Regions from separate parts of the Homo sapiens genome. Here all the other regions are linked to region 2. The links are contacts of gene promoters, found by promoter capture Hi-C in blood cells and fetal thymus (Javierre and others, 2016). All regions are on one chromosome and are shown on one strand. Each heading gives the region's core, a stretch centred on a gene start or on the middle of the fragment in contact. The rest is flanking DNA. Distances are from core to core; before and after follow the strand shown. Region 1 overlaps GUCY1B1 (guanylate cyclase 1 soluble subunit beta 1). Region 2 holds the start of PLRG1 (pleiotropic regulator 1). Region 3 overlaps GUCY1B1 (guanylate cyclase 1 soluble subunit beta 1). Region 4 overlaps GUCY1B1 (guanylate cyclase 1 soluble subunit beta 1).

Region 1 (4,983 bases), core at 1,321-3,820, 1.2 Mb before region 2:
TATTTAAATAGTAGTTGAATATGTCACCATGCTGACATAAATTCTGGTTGCAGAGAAGAATCTTTGATAAAAATATGTGTGTGCTCTATTCTTTGGAAATGAAAAAGGTGAAAGATACTTCATTCACATATAAACATCCATATTTTTATTACAGAAAGAGAGCCTGATATTTTATTGAATACATAGAGAGAGGGAGAGAGAGAGCACTCTAGAAAGAGTTATGGAGGCTATTGTCATGGAGGATAGACATTAATCAGTAGTACAAATACTAAGTACAAACTCTTGCATTACAGCACTATGAAGGAAAGGGAAAAGTTTGGATGTGAGAGAAGGTTCCCTTAAGAAGTGACATTTGCTTTGACATCTCAAAGCTGAGAGGTGTTTACATTTACAGGAGGGTTGGGAGGGTGAAGAAAAGGAGACCATAGCAAGCACAGGTGTTAAACGGACACATTTAAGGCTCGGTATGGCTGAGAAACTAAAAACAGGCCCATGGGGCTGGAATGCTAAGGGTATGTAGGACAAGTTGAGTGAAAGGTTTCCATGTTTGGGTTATCTGAAGATTGACCACAAAGAATTTCAATAAATTTAACAATTTCATATTTCATGATTCAACAATGAAGGGGAAGTAGACCAGAATATGCAACAGAACCAAAGCCACAGTAACGAGGAGGTCCAATAAATACTTCAGAATGTCTACTTTTACCTGGAATAAAATCCACTTTAACTTCACTATCTTTTGATATAGTTTGACACAGAAAAAGATGCTTCATTTTGCTAGACATAAACAATAAAGACATTTTTTCTCCCACCATTTCCTCTTTAACGAACAAGGAGGCAAAGGAGAGAATGAAAAAGCTGCAAGTACTCACGTCTGCTGAGCTGTCACCCTCGGATCTAGCCAGTTAGATTTCTTTATAGCATTCATTTCCTTAAGTGTGTTTTCCTATTGATGTCTGCAGAGCATCAACCCATAACTATAGTTTTCCAACACATTAAAGAGAAACATTTGCTAGAGCCCCTTATTCTGGAGAAAGGCAAGAAAGTAGAAAGGACTTTGTTCTTGCAAATCATAACAATGCTTAGTAAATGTTTGCCAAAACTAGATCTGGGTACATTAAGAGTGAGAATACAGATTTTCTGATTTCTGATGCTCACCGTAATGTGCAAAGATCCTTCCGACACGCCAAATTAAGTGATGTACTCCTCTGATTTTTTTTTTAATTCTCAAAAATCACAGAATGCAAGGAAAATAAAGACTCCAAGACCCAGCTTGATTTCTGGGGGATACCTCAGATCATCAGAACCAAAATAAAACTCAAAAGAAACACCCACAAACTCCCTGAGATCATGTGATGACCCGCCTTATCACCTAGGTGCCTGCCATGCTGCTCACAGACATGGTCCAGGTTCTGGAAGAGCCCTATGCAAAGAGCTCAATAGCAGGTATGTGATGGAGTATACACTTGGGCATCCAGTTCCAGCTGCAAAAGATAACTTCAAACATTAGTAAGCTTAACAGCCAACACACAATACAATGCAACGCCTTCCTCTGTATTTCAGGCTAACTGGCAGATCTTTCTACAGAAAAGGATCCTGATCCTAACAATGATCTGGTTTACTTGTTTCCTTAGTCTGTATATTAATGTGTTTATTTGTACTGAGGAAGTTTCTGGGTAAGAAAATAAATGTGGTTTCATTTTTGTATGTATACTACATTAGTTCCTATTTCACAGTTATATCTTAAAAGAAGCATTAAACCTGGCAACAGAAGAACAAGGGCTGAAGTTCTGACTTTTCAGTTTCCTATATGTAATTCTCTGGGACAGTAAGTAATTACATATGGGAATTAACCTCTTGGAAAACCAACTTTGTTATTAAAAAAATTGAGCTGTAAAGTCCTTTCCTATTTCAAATGGATGTTGTAGCAGTCAACCAAAATTATAGAGAGAACAAAACTTTGGAAATTTGAAATTGCTTTATAATATAAAGTATCCTTACTACTTTAAAACATACATAGGCTCATTACTACTTAAGCAGATCTACAGAAAGGTATAGAAGTTTAAATCACACCTTCAAAAATATGAAAATCTGAATAAACACGGCAAAACATGGTGATGTGCTCTTTTGTTTGTTTTAATTTGCTTTGATACAATGGATATTAAGAGCATTTGTTGCATTTCAAAACAAAATGATGAAAAATGATGATGATGATGATTACTTATCCTAGAGTGATAAAAAAAATTTAGACTGATAGAATATAGACTGCAATAATATTTTTTAAAGGAGGGCTTAATATCTTTCAAGTAAATTGGGGAACGGAAAGTTTAAAAACTCTGATTCTAGAGTAAAATAAAAAAAAATCATCATTTATTAAGCTATTGTCAAGAACTATGTTAAGCATTTTGCAGACATTATTCAATGCATTACATCAGCTCTGTGAAGTATTATTTTTTCCTCTATGCAATGGAGGATTGGAAAGTTTAGGCAACTTGGAAAGTCCCATAACTAGTTTATAGCAAAGTGTTTCCTTATTTGAACCATAATGATTAATTTGTGATTAGCAAATTTAACAAGACACATTAATTTCAAAACTGGAAGTATATGCTATCCAACAGACAAAAGGTTACCGTATTTGAGTTATAGGCAGGAAAATAAAAACAAAATAATAAGACTAAAATATCATGAAATCTCTAGAATTTTTTTTTTGAAGGTAAGGATTACATCATTGCTTTTCTATCCTCAGTGCCTAAAACACTTGACTATACTCATTAAAGATAAACGTTTTATCTGATTTATTTAAGTCAGGACAGTGTACTTTCTTTACAGACTTTTAATCATTTGGGATTTTTCAGTGTTTTGGATCTATCTTCCTAATTTGTATGTTTCAGTGAGGTTAAAAAATCTAAAGTTGGGCTGGGTGTGGTGGTGCATATAATCCAATACTTTGGGAGGCCGAGTCAAGAGGATCACTTGATGACAGGAGTTTGAGACCAGCTTGGGCACACAGCAAGACCTGTCTCTAACTGCTTCCCTCCGCTGCTACCCAGAAAAAATATGGAAAGAAAGCAGAGAAAAAATCTAAAATTAAACCCAGTAATTTGACGCAATGATGAGTTTAGTCAGGGCTGATGGAAGGATAACAGAGATGGGAAATCAAGTATTTAGGTGCTTTTCTAGGATGTATCACTCCTAACTTTATTTATTTTCTACCCTGATAATTTTTTTGTCATTACTTAGAAATCATAGCCTCTTAAAAGGACTATTTGAATATTGAAATGAAATCAACAAAAAAAACTTTGAAATGGATTCAGAGGTCTCTTTTGCTTTTTCACATTTGTTATGGTCTAAATCAGAGGTCATCAAACTATAGCCCATGGATCACATGTAGCCCACTTTGTCTGGTTTGGTTGTTTGTTTGCGTTTTCCTGGTCCAAGAGCTAACAATGGTTTTAATATTTTTAAGTGGTTATATTTTTAATAGTTATATTGATTCCTACATAATATCCTCAGTTTTACCTTGGCCTGTAACACCTAAAACATTTACTATCTGGCCCTTTAAGAGAAAGTTTGCTGGCCCTTGGTCTAGACAATTTTTCTTCTTCTTAAGAGGAATTCAAAGCTTTTGTGAAATGGTTATATTGTTGGTAAGAGTGTAAGTGGATACTGAGTTTACAATGAAGCATTTTTGGCCCTTATCCACTTAGAATTTTCTGTCTGCTGTCTGGAATCTGTTACTTAGGGTTTTATTTGTCATTAAATGTTTGGCATCTTTTCCCATCCTTTCTCATGAAGGATGGATGGCCATTTCCTAGTGAAGCAAAAAAGTATAATGTAAATTTGTATAAACATCAATTTAGATAGTTTCTCAAAGACCAAAAGAAAAAATAAGAGTTTGGTACTTACTGAGACAAAAAAAAATGTTTTTCCTCTTATATTCAATTTCTTATAAAAGTTAAAACTGAAAGCATCTTGGACCAATGACTGCTTTAATATTCCCTGAAGCAGAGGGTAGGGAGGGGAGGAGGAACCAGAATCACCCAAGGAGCATTTTTCAATTACACTCCTCCAGGTTCTCCTCCCCTCTCCCCAGGCAGCAAGATTCTTTTCTGTGGAAAGCAAATGCTCTCCCAGGGAGCATTTAGTAATTACTCAGGGGTATTGGGTTGGAAACCAAGGAGCAGCTTTAATGCCCTCAGTGCAGAGAGTTCAACCATGTTCTCTAGCCCAGACACTAAACCACACCCAAGATCAGCTGGGGTCCACCAAAAGATGCTTAGACAAATAAAGAATCAACACTAACACCTGGATTACCAACACCAGTGTGACTAACACTTTTTCCCTTGCAGGGGCATAACCTTGAGGCAATTTTATTTAAGAAAAGACCAATATAACTTGTTTCATTTTTACCAGAAAAATTGTGTTGTGGATGATTGGAATTTTTATCCTTTAGACAAATTATGAATACTGTTGGAAGCTACTTAAAGATAAATTAGTAAGTTAATAAATAATTTTTTAAAGTAGAATGGAACAATATTCTCAGCTTGATTTTGCAGAGTTAAATTCTCGTCAATTGAATCTTTACATATTTGGACTTCCTCTGGGAAAATATAAGCAATATAAACAAATCTCTGGATAATTTTAACTTTTTAAAATGTCTGATACATTACTCTATAAAGTATTATTTTTCATCTCTGTATTTAACAGTGATCTAAACTGATAATGGCTAGGATATACAATCTAAATCTGGTTAAATTACATAATGACTGTTTAATCATAATAGCCATCTTTTATTCTGCTCTAAAAATTCTAAGCATATTCATTGTCATAGCATATCTACCAGCAAATTTGGGAATTTCTATCTTACAGATGCAAAAGCATCATATGGAGAATATATATATATATAGCATTTATAAATTTACAAAGGAAGTGGCTTAAAAATAATTCGGTAGTTAAGTTATACTGTTAACAATCTTTTTTTGA
Region 2 (5,275 bases), core at 2,195-4,694:
TAAGTCTACTGGGAAATACAGATATTTAAACAAATATTACAACAAAACATTCAGCTAAGAAAGCTGGAACCAAGACATTGTTATTTCTTCTGTGGCAGTATAAACACCAAAAATATTTCTGTAAAATAAAAACATTTGTAAATGCCTGCAAATATTTGTAAGTACAAATTCTTATTTGTAAAGGTAAACAACAAAAGTCATGATTATGTTCAATATTGTCACTTATTTTGTGATATAGTGTTGTGGGTTGAACTGTGTCCCCCCAAATTCACATTATGAATTCCTAACCCCCAGTATCTAAGAATGTGACCTTATTTGGAAATAGGGTATTTTTGGATGGAATTAGTTAAGATGAAGCCATACTGGAGTAGGGTGGGCCTTTAATTCAATATGATTGATGTTCTTTAAGAAGGAGAAATTTGGCATAGGCATATGCACAGTGAGAACGAAATGTGAAGATGAAGGCAGACATGACAGTGATGCAGCAGAAGACAAGAAACGGCAAAGACTGCCAGAGAACTACTGGAAGTTAGGGGAGAGGCATAGAACACATTCTCTCTCACAGCCCTTAGAAGGAACCAACTTTGCCAACGCCTTTATTTCAAGCCTCTTGCCTCCAGAACTGTGAGACAATAAACATTTGTTGTCTAAGCCATCCAGTTTGTGGTACTTTGTTACATCAGCCCTAGCAAACTAATACACATGAGATGGGGCTTCATGTAGTAGAGGATGGTGAAATTGTGATAAGTAAGACCCGAGGACTCTCTCTCTCTCTCTCACACACACACATACACCTTGCTAAGATATTTATAACTGACAGTTTATAACTGATAGTACAATCTAATTATTCCCAAAGTCTTTCCAGGCATTAACAGGAAGAACAGCCCCTTCACTGTTCCTTATAGTCCCAGAAGCTTGTTTCAACTATGCTACAAGAAAGTATCTGCTAACACTACCTTAGTATTTAGGCAAATTCATAGCATTGTGCTAAACAATTAAAGACCAAAGTTTTGGAAGAAATGTCCAAGTATCATTTTTCACAGGTTTTGACCTCAGAAATTCAAATAAACAGTGATAACTCCCATGATTACTTCCTTTTGAATTAACGAACAATTTCAAATATGAAATTTAAGGGATGGACATACTGAGCCACACAACTCTAAAGAACATTGCATATAGTGTTTTTTAAAGCTTGTATATTTAACCCTCTAAGTTGAAACAGAAAAATAAATAGTAATATTTATTATTTTATAAGAATCAGAAAACACTTCCTATAAAAATATCATAAAAAGCTGATGAAAATGGCACTCAAATCTATACTCATATGACCTATCACTGTTCAAGAGCAAAGGACAATATTTGAAGGAGAATAAAAAGAGTTTCTGTATTGGTGAGTTTAAAAAATCTTGCCTAAAGAAGGAGGGCTTTCCTTAAAACTTGTATTCTTGGTTTTACACAGACATAATACTAATAATTTATATTAATAAGTTACTTGCCGTGTCTGCTTTAAGGACAGCCCTGAGGGCCCGTACAAAGAGCAGTGGTGACACCTGCTGTTCAAATAAGGCAGCTTCGGGTGTCAGCCAGGCCATGTGTGTATGACGGAGCCTTTCAGGAATCCAATTAAACTTGTGGATCCTTTCTCCAGAAAATAAAACATATTCCCATATAAATACAAAATTTTCCTACAATATACATAATTCATGAATCCCTGAACTAAATAATAGGGTCACTTGAGTTCTATATTTATCTAAAATATTGTAAACTTTCAAGGGGATGACATCATTCTATAAATTCACGACAGTGTTTTAAAAGGAGCAAATTCGAGGCAATTTACCTCAATCATTACCATGTTGTTATTGAGAAATTAAATTAATGTCTCCAGGATGATTAAATATGTAAAAAGTTAATAGATCCAACTAGACAATTAATATATTGCCATATATATTAGTCTTGCTTAGGTTTCTATGGTTTTATTGTCATTTCAAATCATGTTATTTTCTATAGTTATTATTAATAGGTGAGTATATTATTTAGTTCATCAAGTATATATTTTACAATTATGGTATTTTCTTGCAAGGAAATACCATCACCTGCCACCTTTACAGAAAAGCAATTCTTAGGCCAAACTCACAGTTAAATTCAGAGATGCTGTATCTTCAAGTAAAAACATGACCTTAAGGCAGGGCTCAGTGGCTCATGCCTGTAATCCTAGCACTTTGGGAGGCCGAGGCGGGCGGATCACCTGAGGTCAGGAGTTCAAGACCAGCCTGGCCAACATGGTGAAACGCTGTCTCTACTAAAAATACAAAAATTAGCCGGGCATGGTGGCGGGCGCCTGTAATCCCAGCTACTCCAGAGGCTGAGGCAGGAGAATAGCTTGAACCTGGGATGCTGAGGTTGCAGTGAGCCAAGATCGCGCCATGGCACTCCAGCCTGGGCGACAAGAGCGAAACTCTGTCTCAAACAAAAACCCATGACCTTAATGTTTTTAATGAATTTCCAAGTAAGGTTGATTTATATTGCTATTCTTTTGCTAGATTTTTTCCCCCTCTCAAAGTGTAAGCAGTATGCTCTCAGGACAGGATTAGTGAAACTGAAACAGGGCCAGTAAAATGTTTGTCTATTTAAGTTTGTAAATGCCTAAGTCCATCCATTTTTTTTTTTACATAGAAAAATAATTGGGTAGGGTTGATCACAAACCACAGATTTTACCAGGGTAGAAAGCAAAAATACCAATACTTGGCACAAGGATATGTATAAATAAAAATGGCTAAAGTCTCCAATTGTGTCTTCTACCAGCTTTGAAAAGCTGTACCCTGGCATTGTTGAAGCCACAATAATCAGCAGGCAACTAGGAAATGGACAAGAGCTATGCAGTTTTGAGAAATTAAAAAAAAAAATCTATTAGCAGAAAATAAATATGGGGTTTTGTTATAACTACATGTCAAAATTTTCCAAATTAAAACAGCTATTCCTCAACGTTCACTTAACAAGTGTTTACTGGACTGTTTAAGCGAAATTGTTTTCAGGTGTTAAGCCTACAAGTGTCCAAGTGCTTCTCGCCAGGATTAGAACCAGGAGACACAAAGCACGCAGGCGACCTCCAAAGAGATCAAGGTAGTGGAAATGCCTTAGATAGAGCCCACGGGAGTTTGCTCTCCAGACGCTTAGGTTCTCTGAATAAAAAGCGTTAAGCTTCCGGGGAATACAGCACGAACAACCAGGACCCCAACTAAGGCAGAAAACATAATTCTAAGATTTCTTCAGAGGGACGAGTGAAACCCTCCACCCAGGCCCTTCCAGGAGTCTCCGGCTTTCAGCCTCGAGACTCCGCCCTAGAGGCGGTCCCGAGGAGGGAGACCCGCCTCCTGATCCTAGATGGCCGAGGGAGACTAGCGCGCGTGCGCAGAGCTTGCATCACATCCGCCGCCTGGGCGCCCAATTCCGGAAGGTGCTGCACAGCTGTGGCGGCGGGTACTGCGTTAGTGATTAGAGTTTCTTCCCTGCCGGAGGTGGGATACACGGTAGCATCATGGTCGAGGTAAAGTGACACTGGGGCTCTCAAGAGTCGTTTGTCTCTGGACTGTTTTTTTTGGCAGTGCGCGTGGGGGATTGAGAGTACTTGGAGTCCAGAGAGAAAAGAGGCTACGAGGGGAGCTATTTGGCCAAGGCCGAGTGGTCTCTTCTTCGGGTTTTCGGGGAAGGGGTAGAAGCCGGATGAGAACCCGAGTCGGAGGTTCAGCCTGGGCGCGAAGCCTGAGATAATTCGTCCAGTCCTCGTTTGACTCTTGGGAGCTGGAAAGTGTCCTCGGAGGCGGGGCCTCTGTTGGTGATCGACCACTGGTACTTGCCGCCCTCGGGGCAGTGTCAGTGAGTCTGTGCCCTAAAAGATTGGTAGTCTTCTCTATCTTGCGTTCAGGTCGTCTCTTATTTCACCTCTACCCCCAGAAAAACTTGCCGTTCTTTACATCTTTCCCTGGCATGAACAGCCAACGCTGTTAGCTGGTCTTGTCCATCTTACCCCACATGTTTATTGATTCCATTCACTCTTCTCCATATCCGCTGCAGTCCACCTTAATTGAGACCAACATCATCTTTCACCTGGACTGGTGCATTAGCTCCCCGTTGGTTGGTTTCCTTGCTTCCATTTTGTTCTATAAGTTGTTCTGTTTAAAACGTAAGTTGTTCATACCTTTCTTGTTTAAAACCCTTTACTGACCCTATGTTGCTAGAACAAAATATAGGCTGTTGTAATAGTCTAAAAGACCTTACCTAATCTGGACCTTGTCTACCCTTGCAGCTACAAAGCACCATCTCATCCTCCATACACAGCTGTACTGCGCTCCTTGTATTATTTCAGTTAACTGAACTTTTTTTTACATGACATTTCCATCAGCCTGGTTCGTTCTTACCTCTGTTTTGTGCAAGGCTAACTCCCTTTCTGCTTAAATATCACCTTAGTGAAATCTTTCACAATTATACTTAGTCCTTCATTCCCTGACTCAGCGCCTTGCTTGTTGCCTTCATAGCACTTATCAAAATGTGGAATTATTTTACTTTTTATTTGTCTGTTTCCTCTTGAGCACAGGGACCATGACCACCTTTTTATCATTCTATTGTGAGATTCTAGCACAATACCTGCCAGACACACAGTAGGAGCTCAGTAAATATTTATTGAGTAAGTTAAACTCCGGCATCACTCAGTTGCTAAACCTGAGGTTCTAGCCAAAGAGGAGCTTCCTCCTCTTCTCTGAACTTGACTCCTGTAGCTTGCAACAAGTAGCTATGGTGAGTGGTATAAAGCTTTTTACATATTTAAACACGTGAAGTGTATAATCAATCTGACTTTAGGTTATGATTTGTGTAATTTGTAGATAGGTGTGTAATTACATTCTTTTTTTTTAGGAGGTACAGAAACATTCTGTACACACCCTTGTGTTCAGGTCGTTGAAGAGGACCCATGACATGTTTGTAGCTGATAATGGAAAACCTGTGCCTTTAGATGAAGAGAGGTTGGTGTAGTTTTTTTTTTTCAATTGCTAAAATACTTAACATTCTAATACTAGGGGAAGAGAGCAGGGAGAGGGAGTCCTTTAAAGATAAGCTAGTCATGGGCTAATTATTCAATAATGAGTGGTGTTTTGGCATAATTTAAGCTGATTTAACTTTTTTTTTTGGCCTTTTACAGTAAAAGTTCCATTAATTAATTGCATTTTACAAATACCCAGTAATTAAGAGAGTCCCTTTTAGGTATTTTATTTTATAATCAATC
Region 3 (4,788 bases), core at 1,796-4,295, 1.2 Mb before region 2:
GCCCAACCTAGTCACATGGGTGACTGTGCACTTAAAAGTCAAGAAGCTTTCCCTGCTACATGGTGACAGAGAGATGTGCAATGACAAAAGGTCAAAGAGATGGGAGTATGAGAAGGATTCAACACCATGCGACTGGTTCTGAGATGTAGGAGACTGTTGAAGGACTGGAGAGAGGTCTCCAGGACTTTAGGGCAGCTGCCTGCTGACAGTCAAGGAAACTGGGTCCTCAGCCCTATAACTGCATGGAACTGAATTCTGTCAATACTTGAATGAGGAAGAAAACAATTATCCCCAAAAGCCAACATAAAGAAACACAGTCCCGTCCCACCAGCACAGCACGCTGAATATAGTCCAGTAAGACCTGCAATGGACTTCCAACTTATGAAACCATAGGGTAATAAATTTGTGTTAAGCACTTAAGTTTGTGGTCATTTGTTATGGTAGCAATAAAAAACAAATACACCAAGCAAGTAGTAATCTATTCACAACTGGTGATTATTTTTAAAGAGAAGAAAAGAAAAACAACAAAACAGTTTCAAAATGTCATGGGCATAAAAGAACATACCTAAAATGAAAGTACTGGAGATATGCCAAAATTAAACTATGGCTTTCATTCCAAATGTCTCAAAGAGGTCAATTTAGAAAAACAGAAAAATCCAGTGAGATTACTGGGAGGAAACTACGGTGAGAATGAGATGATTCCGCGGGTGTCCACATTTGAGCAATACTCTAACAGGACACTTACAGCATTAATTTTCTGTCCCTTCCACACATCCACTCAATCATGCATTCACTCTATAATGTTATTGTATGTGCATTATATATCATACACTGTGTCATGTGGGCTTGGGTGCAGGGTAGATGTTTGGATGCAGATCTGCATGATGAGGATTAAGCAGCTCATGGTTTATATCACAAATGGATGTGTAGAGTGGCTTTTGATGAGCAAATGAGGAAGCCAACAATTCAGACTGAAAGAATGGAGTTAAAAATACTTCAAACTGAAGATGTGATTTGAGCTAGGTCATGAAGTTTGACAATCTAATCCAGATAAATGATTCAATGACCTCCTCAACTCGATAAATCTGGTGACTTTTTGAACCGTCTGCATCTACTGTTTCCTTCCCCACAATTATACCTGATGGAGTCAAGCTAATTCTTAGCAAAAACATCAGTTCATCCGGATTGCCTCTAGAGGCTGCTATTGCCATGTAAAAGTAATCCAATATGGCAGCCACTAAGTATTGAAGAGGTATATATAACCTACAAACCCCGGAGTCCTAAAACTGTTTTACTTGGTTGAATAGTATGAGAGGTTCTTCCAATGATGAATCATTCTCATTAGGACTCTTCCCTTAGAAGGGACGACCTGAGAACTGCTTCATAGCCCTCTCAGACCCCTTATACTTCTACTTATGTTGTGAAACATTTTGTGAAAGAAAATCGGGTGAGAAAAAAAAAATCACTGAGAGAGTTTTATTTTTATCTGCATTTCTCACAAAGTCAAAATTGAGCTTGTGGCTGCATTTAGAAAATGTTTCTAATAGAGTCAGGCCCAGGTACTGTGTTGTTGGCTCACTTAAAAAAGAAATTGAGGCCAGGCGTGCTCTCACACCTGTAATCCCAGCACTTTGGGAGGCGGAGGCAGGCAGATTACTTGAGGTCAGGAGTTCGAGAACCAGCCTGGCCAACATGGTGAAACCCCACATCTACTGAAAATACAAAAATTGGCCAGGCGCGGTGCCTCACACCTGTAATCCCAGCACTTTGGGAGGCCAAGGCGGGCGGATCACAAGGTCAGGAGATCAAGACCATCCTGGCTAACACGGTGAAACCCCGTCTCTACTAAGAGAAAAAAAAAGAAATTAGCAGGGTGTGGCGGTGGGTGCCTGTAATCCCAGCCACTCAGGAGGCTGAGGCAGGAGAATGGCATGAACCCGGGAGGTGGAGCTTGCAGTGAGCCGAAATCTCGCCACTGCACTCCAGCCTGGGCGACAGAGTGAGACTCCATCTCAAAAAAAAAAAAAAAAAAAAAAAAAAGAAAGAAAGAAAATACAAAAATTAGCCAGGCGTGGTGGGGCATGCCTGTAGTCCCAGCTACTTGGGAGGCTGAGGCATGAGAATCGCTTGAACCCAGGAGGTGGAGGTTGCAGTGAGCCCAGATCTCACCACTGCACTCCAGCCTGGGCGACACAGTGAGATTCTGCCTCAAAAAAAAAAAAAAAAAAAAGGAAATTGAACCAAACAATAACTTCAAAAAGGCATTTTAATATTTTTTCTATACAGAATGCTTACATATTTCATAAATCAATGTACCAATGTGCTTATATCATTTTCATACTCATCTTTTTTACTGGATTATTAAAACATTTCTACTTTCACTCAAGCAGATGGCATAAGGCAATAACGACTTGCACCACTTATGTCACTGGCACCACTTATGCTGGGGCAAGTCAGAGAGTGGACACAATCATCCAAGTCAGTACTTCCTGAGTCACTAAAGATAGGCACTGCACCCTCACCAAAGGATACCAAAAACACCAAATGAGAATGTTCACCTTTTCTGTCTTTTTGCAGTAACCAACTCTCCAGAGATTTACTGTGTTATTGAATTTACTATTAGTTAATTGAACAAGTAAAGTGCTCTCCTGAATCATAAAAGATTGAACACCACTTAATGTAATATTGATTTTCTTTAGATAGTATCTAATATAAAAAATACTCTTGGGATTTCTTGAGTTACAACCTTCCTTACTTGGCTTTACTCTTTCAAAATTTAAAGTAATTACCACAGCCAGACTATTACAAGAAATGAGATTAATGATTAAAAGTTATTTTCATTTAAGTACACTTATATTGCTAATAAATGTGTCATCCTCATATACAGGCTACAATTTTTTTTTTTTGCTACAAAAAGATTCTTACAATGGCCAAGAGAAAACCCTTTCTACATTTGATAATGCTATCTAAACAAAGATGATAGTTCATCCACATTGCTCTAACAATGTATTCTGGGGAATAAGAGTTTCATATCAAAACTGATATTCTGTGTTATTTCTAAATATACCCACAGAAGCACTTACAGAAAGTAAAGAGCTGTGTGGCCAATTGCAAAGAAGTATGTCCATATGTATGAAAGTAAAAAAGACACTGAAAAAATGTAAACTCTTACATTGCAGCACAAGTAGATTCCCAGGAAACAATGATGTAAATCTGAAATATGCTTTGATTCATTCTTCTAGGCTTCATAAAATCAAAAAACAGGAAAAATATAGAGAGTAGGTCCATTCATCTATTTTGATATCTTGAGATACCTAAAGGTTTTAATTTAATAATTTCATTTCTTAATGTTCTAATATCATTTTATTGTTTTTCTACAAGCAAATGAATGTGGTTTTTCTACTCAGGAATTCTGCTCCCTGTCAGTCTAGTTTATTTTATCACCTTGCATTTATCATTTATAAAAGAAAAATTAGTTCTGGTATTCTGGGGTACTCTACTGGAATTTCAGACATAGTACACTTCACAGATTTAGAAAACAAAAGACAATTTATCATTCCTTTGAGTAATAAAGTGTCACATTTTTAAAGATCTTGGGATGTTTCAAAATAAATGCACATTTTCTTTTTGTAATATGCATGCCAAAAATAAGTTCTTACATAATTACAGGGGCAAAGTCCCCAGAAGTCAACTACCTGATTTTCCTGTTTCAAGGACATCTAATTAAATTTTTTAAAGGATCCACAGAAATGGGTAAGACCTTGCCTTGAACGTTTTAAAGAAAAACATTTTCAGTATCCAAGAATCCTTGTTTTAGTGGATGGGGAGAAGGGAGTTGTCTGTGTTGAGAATATTACTGCAGTTTAGATCTGCAAGAAATCTTTAAAACCAGTCATTGCAAACCTCTTTTTGTTTTTCAATGAAGGAGGATGAGGTATAGTATTTCCTTTCTTTCTATCCCTCACACCTCTGAAAAATAGGACCAACACCAACATTCTTTAATGAGAGTCATGTAATTTAAAAAATATTTTGTTAAGTTTTATAAGAAAAAAGTCATTTTGGAATTTGAAGATAAAACATTTAAACAAAGTCGACCTAAGTAAAATGGAACATCAAACCCTAGATGATGAGAAACACCAAAGTAAATAGCATGAGATTGGAGTAGGAAGTGAATGCTTTCATAATACTTTTCCTGCCTTTTCTTCCTGGAGCTGCTTCTTGAGAATTAAATAGCTTTTCAACTGAAAAGATATAGAGATTCTTTTCTAAAAGAAACATTGAAAATCTCTATTTAAAAAGAAACTGTACCAGAGTCACTAAAATTATTTAAATGGAAATAGCGTTAAAGCTATATCAATTTATCATTACCATCCTCTCCAAGGAAATATTTTAATTAAAGAAAAACAGTTAAAATATTTCTCTTATTCTATTGCTTTTAAACTCATGTTAAAAAAGATCCAGTCTATATAATACTACATGTAACAATTAATCAATATTTTGAAAAATTATGAAAATATATACCAGTTATTCAAACTGAAAAGCCTTACAATTCTGGAATACTTCTTATCTTCCTTCATAAGTTTTTAAAAAATAAAACTATTTTTATTATTGGATTATAGAAATTGGCGTTGTGGATGCTGAGAAAACAGCTCTTTTTTAAAATTCCAAAGTTAAAAATAAAGTGAATGGTGCTCTTTTTTCTTAAGAAATATAAATAATTTAGGGAAGTATTAGAATTTTACAGCTGTTCAGGAAAATCCTCATATTTCCTAAAATAACCCTTTGCAC
Region 4 (5,248 bases), core at 1,016-3,515, 1.3 Mb before region 2:
TTACAGACTCTTTTACACATTAACATGGAACATTTATACATATATCGATGTGCTGATATGAAATACTAAATTTAAAGGCAAACATTTTTACACAAAAGTAGTTGCACTCTATTTTATAAAGATAGATATTAATAAGTTATCAGAGACATTTAAGAGCTAGAGGCCAATTATTCCAACAGTAATGCATTCTATGCTGAAAGTAAACTAAGTTTTCTGAACATGATGTCCTGGATATAATCACATTCTTCTAAGCTAAGGAAAGGGAGCTCATTTCTGGGAATACAAGGCCAAGAAGGGCTCTAACAGCAGTATCCCAGCAGTGTGTTTCCAGATTTATTCTTGGATGTGGTTGGAGCTCCCAACATTTAGCCTGAACTAATGTAACAGCTCAATGTGAAACAATGCAGCTTTCTGTAACAGCTGCCTGTGGTTAATGAGATTTAATACAGGGGATACAGTTACAAATGATAGCATTTTAGAAGAATTATAATTGCCATATGATTTGAATTAGTAATCAAATACTTTAATAACAGAAACGTGTATTCTATATTTCTGAAAGGGAAGTAGCATACTTCAAAATAGTCACTATTTTCTTAGCATGATATGTTAATTCTTACTTTGGGAGTCTGAAAATAAATTGCATTTTTTCCCCTAAAACTTAGAATTCACTCCTTTAGAAAATGATTTCTATAATGATATACACCAACATGATATAAACTTTATTACATTATAGTCATTAAAATATACATATACATATATGTGGAACACTAAACAGATTTGGTAAACATGATATAAATATACACATGGCCAAACACTGTTCAGTTTCATTTAACTAAATTCAACAAATATTTATTGGGTGCCTACTACTTGCAGATCACCATGTTAGGTAATGCTTGTAGTAGATTTTAAGACACATGAAGCTCACATCATCCACATCAAAAGCCAAACTTTAGATAATATACTAAAGCCTAAAAAGTAATAGAAAGCAGAGCTAAGGTTGAATAACGGATAGTGAGAGATATATCTAGAAGAAAGTCTTGGGGTAATGGACAAGGACAAAAGAAAATCTGTATCCATAGGGAAGAACTGCTCCTGGGCTTGGCACGTGTTAGGAGAAAACTGGAACCTAGTCTGTACTCCTCTTCACCCCATAATCCAAGATTCAGTCATCATCCTGCTTTGTTTCCTTAAATAGGCAGAAGAAAAGAGGGATTGATTTACAGTGATAGTGAGGTTTATAATATCAATTAAATATATTTTTCTCTTTATGAGAGTGTGATCCACGTTCACATCTACAGTTTCTGTAAATCATTCCCACCATAATTCTGGGAAAAACAGGACCGCACGACTAAGATGACCAATGTTTGAGGTAATTACGGCTTAGTTTATCAGAAGAACATCAATAAGCATGTCCACCTCATAGGAAAATGATTTAATGTTAAACCAGGTGAAAGAAGATAAATATTTCAAACCCTGGCATTCTATTCCCTTTAGAAGTTGTTATGCCCTAAAAGCATCTTTAGAGAGTTTATACACACTAAAAGAGAAATATGAGCATGCAGTCTTATCCCCCATGAGGAAACAACACATCAACAGGGTAACAAAGTATCAAACTTGCTTCTGATGCCACTCCTTACAAAAGGCTAGGAAGAGGCTAGCCATGATCTTAGTGTGTGCAAGGCCTCTATGAGAGGTGTGATTCCACTTTGGATGTGCCACTGTTCTGAAGTCCATTCTAGCACATGGGCTCTGCCTGGAGTATAACCATAGTAGTAGAAAGAACTTAAATCTTCCCTAAGGAATTAATCAGATTCTAGCAAGTTAAAAATCACTCATCTATCTAGGAGAAACACATGAGGGACTAGGATTTCCAAAATTCCCCAATCACTCCATAGAAAGATAGCCTGCCCCTTAAAAGGATCTTAAGCTTCATGGTTAAGAAACCTCCCATGAACCACAGCCCTTATCTGTGGTGATCTCAGAGCCAACTTAGAGAGCTGAGGAAAGGGGTCAGGGGAGCCCCTCACAGCCCACTTACCTTTGAGCCAGACTACAGAGGAAGAGCAAAACAACCACAACAGCAAGAAAAAAAGCAGCCTTCTCAATCCAGTCTGTTGGTTTTCATTTCATTAGAGGACAAAAATCACTAAAGTATCCCCTAAAAAGTACTTATGATTGTAATTGGCTCATTAATGTTCAATTATTTCCACTGCTTTACTTAGAAGTTAATTTCTGTTAGCAAGAATTCTTTTCAAATGAAATACATTTTCAGTGATTTTGCTTTAGTTTTCCATACTTATACTCTGTCTTAAGTACGCAAATTACACTTTGATTAGTCATACCTCTGTTCCTGTATTTTTTCTGGATAGAAACCAAACTTGCATTGGTTCTTTTTTGCCCTTCATGGACACTGGGCCTCTGTGCTCCAAGTGGAATTGTGGATCTGAATTTTCTGGAGACATAAGACATCTAAAAGACAAGGGAAGGGGAGTAGAGAGAGAAGTATACACAAGTTTTATAGAGAAGGTGACATGTATCATGTTATAAACCAAGATGGCAAGAACAAATGCTGAAGTTGTACTGAAAGGTAACTCAAAGCTTTAGAAACAATGATCATATCAGGATTTCCTAAGATGATGTGAAATCATATAAAATGGAAATAATGACACAATCTTCTCAAATAAAAAGTAAACAACTCTACAAGCAGTGGGGAAGAGTGAAGGTGATAACTCTGTTAAAGCAACAAAATCTCTCAGAGAATTAAACCACATGCAAAGACACATTTTCTTTGCAAATCAGTAAATACCAAGACATTTTCTCTCACCTGTATGTATATTCAGACACATTTATTTTTCCCTTTTCTCCTGTGGTTTCTGTTCGGCTTGTGAGGTTGACAGTATTCCCAAAAAGACAGTATCGAGGCATCCGCTGTCCTATGACACCTGTAACTACCTCTCCAGTGTGTATCCCTATTGTTATCTGCAAAAAAGAAAGCTTTGCTTCAATCATTTTGATCACTAACACATGAATTTTTTTTTTTTTATTTTACTTTAAGTTCTGGCATACAGGTGCAGAAGGTGCAGGTTTGTTACATAGGTATATATGTGCCATGGTGGTTTGCTGCACCTATCAACCCATTATCTAGGTTTTAAGCCCCGCACGTATTAGGTATTTGTCCTAATGCTCTCCCTCCCCTTGCCCCCAAACTCCCAACAGGTCCCGGTGTGTGATGTTCCCCTCCTTGTGTCCATGTGTTCTCATTGTTCAGCTCCAACTTATGAGTGAGAACATGTGGTGTTTGGTTTTCTGTTCCTGTAACACATGAATTTTTGCTTACTTTATATTACAGAATAATGTAGAGTCATCATATAACATCGTAAGAGATGTCTATAAGAATTTCAAGCATATTATGGACAACTTCAAAAGCCCTCCATGAAATCTCTATCTCCCCAGGGAAATATCCTATCTCAAGAGAAACATTTGAAGTCTGAAGATTTCAAAGATGTGAATCTAGTAACTTACATGAGACATGAAAGAGGTTTTAAAAAATAAACTAGAAGGTACAAGAGGTTTTTTTCTCATCCCCATGACTTTCAGTACATGAAACGGACTAGATAATTTCAAACAGGTAGATAAATCTCCATGTCTATGAAAGAATGTAGTACAGTGGGCTGGATGAAATGCTATAGTCTTTGTTGTCAAGATGCCCTTCTTTATACACGTTAATGATTTTCCGGACAACGATATGAATCAATTGTCCAAAAAGGTTTACATACCATTATTACAATATCTACTTCATTTACTAACCTGAACAGATTCACCATCTACTTGAACCTGGCCAGCAATTTCCATCATGTCCAAGGCCAGGTGGCAGATGGATCGTGCATGGTGAATGCATGGCTCTGGTAAACCACTCACTGTCATATACTTGTCACCAACAGTCTCCACCTAACAGTACATATATTTAGATGTTCACGGTTAGCATAAAAAAGACTGTTTCATTTATTACCCTAACAAAAAACATATTTTTTCAAGTCTACCAGCAACTTTAAGCTTCCCTCCCCCTTTAATTCTCTTAAAATTCTAATATATTCAACTCCAACAAAATGAAACCTTGCAATTACTTATAATTTACACACATGATGGACACTTGGGGTCTTTGATGACGGGCAGGTACAGACATAGAATTATTTTTCCTTTAGTAAGCAATTAATTTCTCACCTCAGATAACTTTATAATTCAGAAGAATAATTTTTTACATTTCTACCTAAAACAGTGATGGCTTGACGGCATGGAGAGCCACCATTTCAAGTTCAGTGATTTATCACGGTCATTAATCATTTGTTTGTATGATGTGCTCACCACATGCTAGAGTGTACCTCAGAAAATGACTATAAAATAAATAGTCCTTGTGTAGTTATATTACCCCAGATATCTAGAGATGGTTTACTTAACATTCTTGCCTTTATGTAGCAATATTCCACTGACTTCTTTTTTCCAATATTATATTTATTTCTAAATGAAACAAAGGGCAAAAACGCCTTATAAATGTTTATCTTCTTCAAGTTGATGTTATCTAAACGCAAATCTGAGTCCTTCTCATGCTTCATGACTTCTTTACTGTACAAAGCATTTATATATCTCAGTAAAAATGTCTCTTGCAGAGGACTAAAATGAATGCTATGTTTATACTACATGTGATAAACAGCCTGTCCAGATTTGTTAGCCTAAGTGCAAATAAGATGGTGAACATTTCATTTTAACCAGGGAATCACCCACTTCATGAAACATTCATTGTGGTTACAAGGAAGAGACAGTTTTATAACAAGAGGCAATTATTTAAGAACATGGTAAAGAGTGAATACATGGAGGCTCACTGTACTCAAGGCTGCAGTGCTGGAGTCAGAGAGCTGTGATGACATGGCCTCTGGAGGGGAGTCTCAGAACGCCAGCCTCTGGATAGCTCTGCAGTCAGCGATAAAGAACACTTGCCTTATAAACAAATGGGTTTTTCCGGGAATCAGTCAGTGTGTCAAATCTGGTGTAGAGGTCGTTGAGGAGGTTGACGATCTTCATGGCTCCTTCTCCAGATGCATGCTTGCTACAGAAAGCATTGAAGCCCACAATGCCACTAAAGAGGATGGTCACATTGTCATATCTTTTGGCAGGCACTGGACGCTTGTGCCGCAGCTCATTGGCAACAGACGGAGGAAGGACAGAATACAGCAATCTGTTCAGTGGGATCAGC

What was found. The method cuts DNA at HindIII sites, captures the fragments that hold promoters and counts their contacts. A CHiCAGO score of 5 or more calls a contact.
Region 1: a contact is called between a fragment that was not itself captured here and the fragment with the promoter of PLRG1 in region 2, in 2 of 17 cell types (monocytes and total B cells). The highest score is 6.3, in monocytes.
Region 3: a contact is called between a fragment that was not itself captured here and the fragment with the promoter of PLRG1 in region 2, in 3 of 17 cell types (naive B cells, monocytes and total B cells). The highest score is 8.2, in naive B cells.
Region 4: a fragment that was not itself captured here is called in contact with the fragment with the promoter of PLRG1 in region 2 in 2 of 17 cell types (total B cells and naive B cells); the score reaches 7.9 in total B cells.

What each region holds. Positions count from the first base shown.
Region 1 is chr4:155,761,272-155,766,254 of GRCh38, reverse strand. All of the region lies in intron 2 of GUCY1B1 (guanylate cyclase 1 soluble subunit beta 1), which reads right to left. Among named protein-coding and RNA genes, the nearest start is that of GUCY1B1, 4.7 kb to the right of the region's middle. The HindIII fragment of the contact is 2,108 bases long and covers 1,517-3,624 here.
Region 2 is chr4:154,548,569-154,553,843 of GRCh38, reverse strand. PLRG1 (pleiotropic regulator 1) reads left to right here and starts at 3,444. Exons shown (of 15, transcript NM_002669.4): 1 at 3,444-3,544; 2 at 4,909-5,015. The coding sequence starts at 3,536. RefSeq lists enhancers at 1,433-1,727, 3,111-3,270, 3,291-3,340. The HindIII fragment of the contact is 1,608 bases long and covers 3,201-4,808 here.
Region 3 is chr4:155,783,714-155,788,501 of GRCh38, reverse strand. The region is part of intron 4 of GUCY1B1 (guanylate cyclase 1 soluble subunit beta 1); the gene reads right to left. Among named protein-coding and RNA genes, the nearest start is that of GUCY1B1, 27 kb to the right of the region's middle. The HindIII fragment of the contact is 5,993 bases long and covers 49-4,788 here.
Region 4 is chr4:155,802,324-155,807,571 of GRCh38, reverse strand. It overlaps GUCY1B1 (guanylate cyclase 1 soluble subunit beta 1), which reads right to left. Exons shown (of 14, transcript NM_000857.5): 10 at 4,993-5,230; 11 at 3,808-3,948; 12 at 2,825-2,979; 13 at 2,343-2,469; 14 at 1-1,186. The coding sequence ends at 1,163. Among named protein-coding and RNA genes, the nearest start is that of GUCY1B1, 46 kb to the right of the region's middle. The HindIII fragment of the contact is 671 bases long and covers 1,930-2,600 here.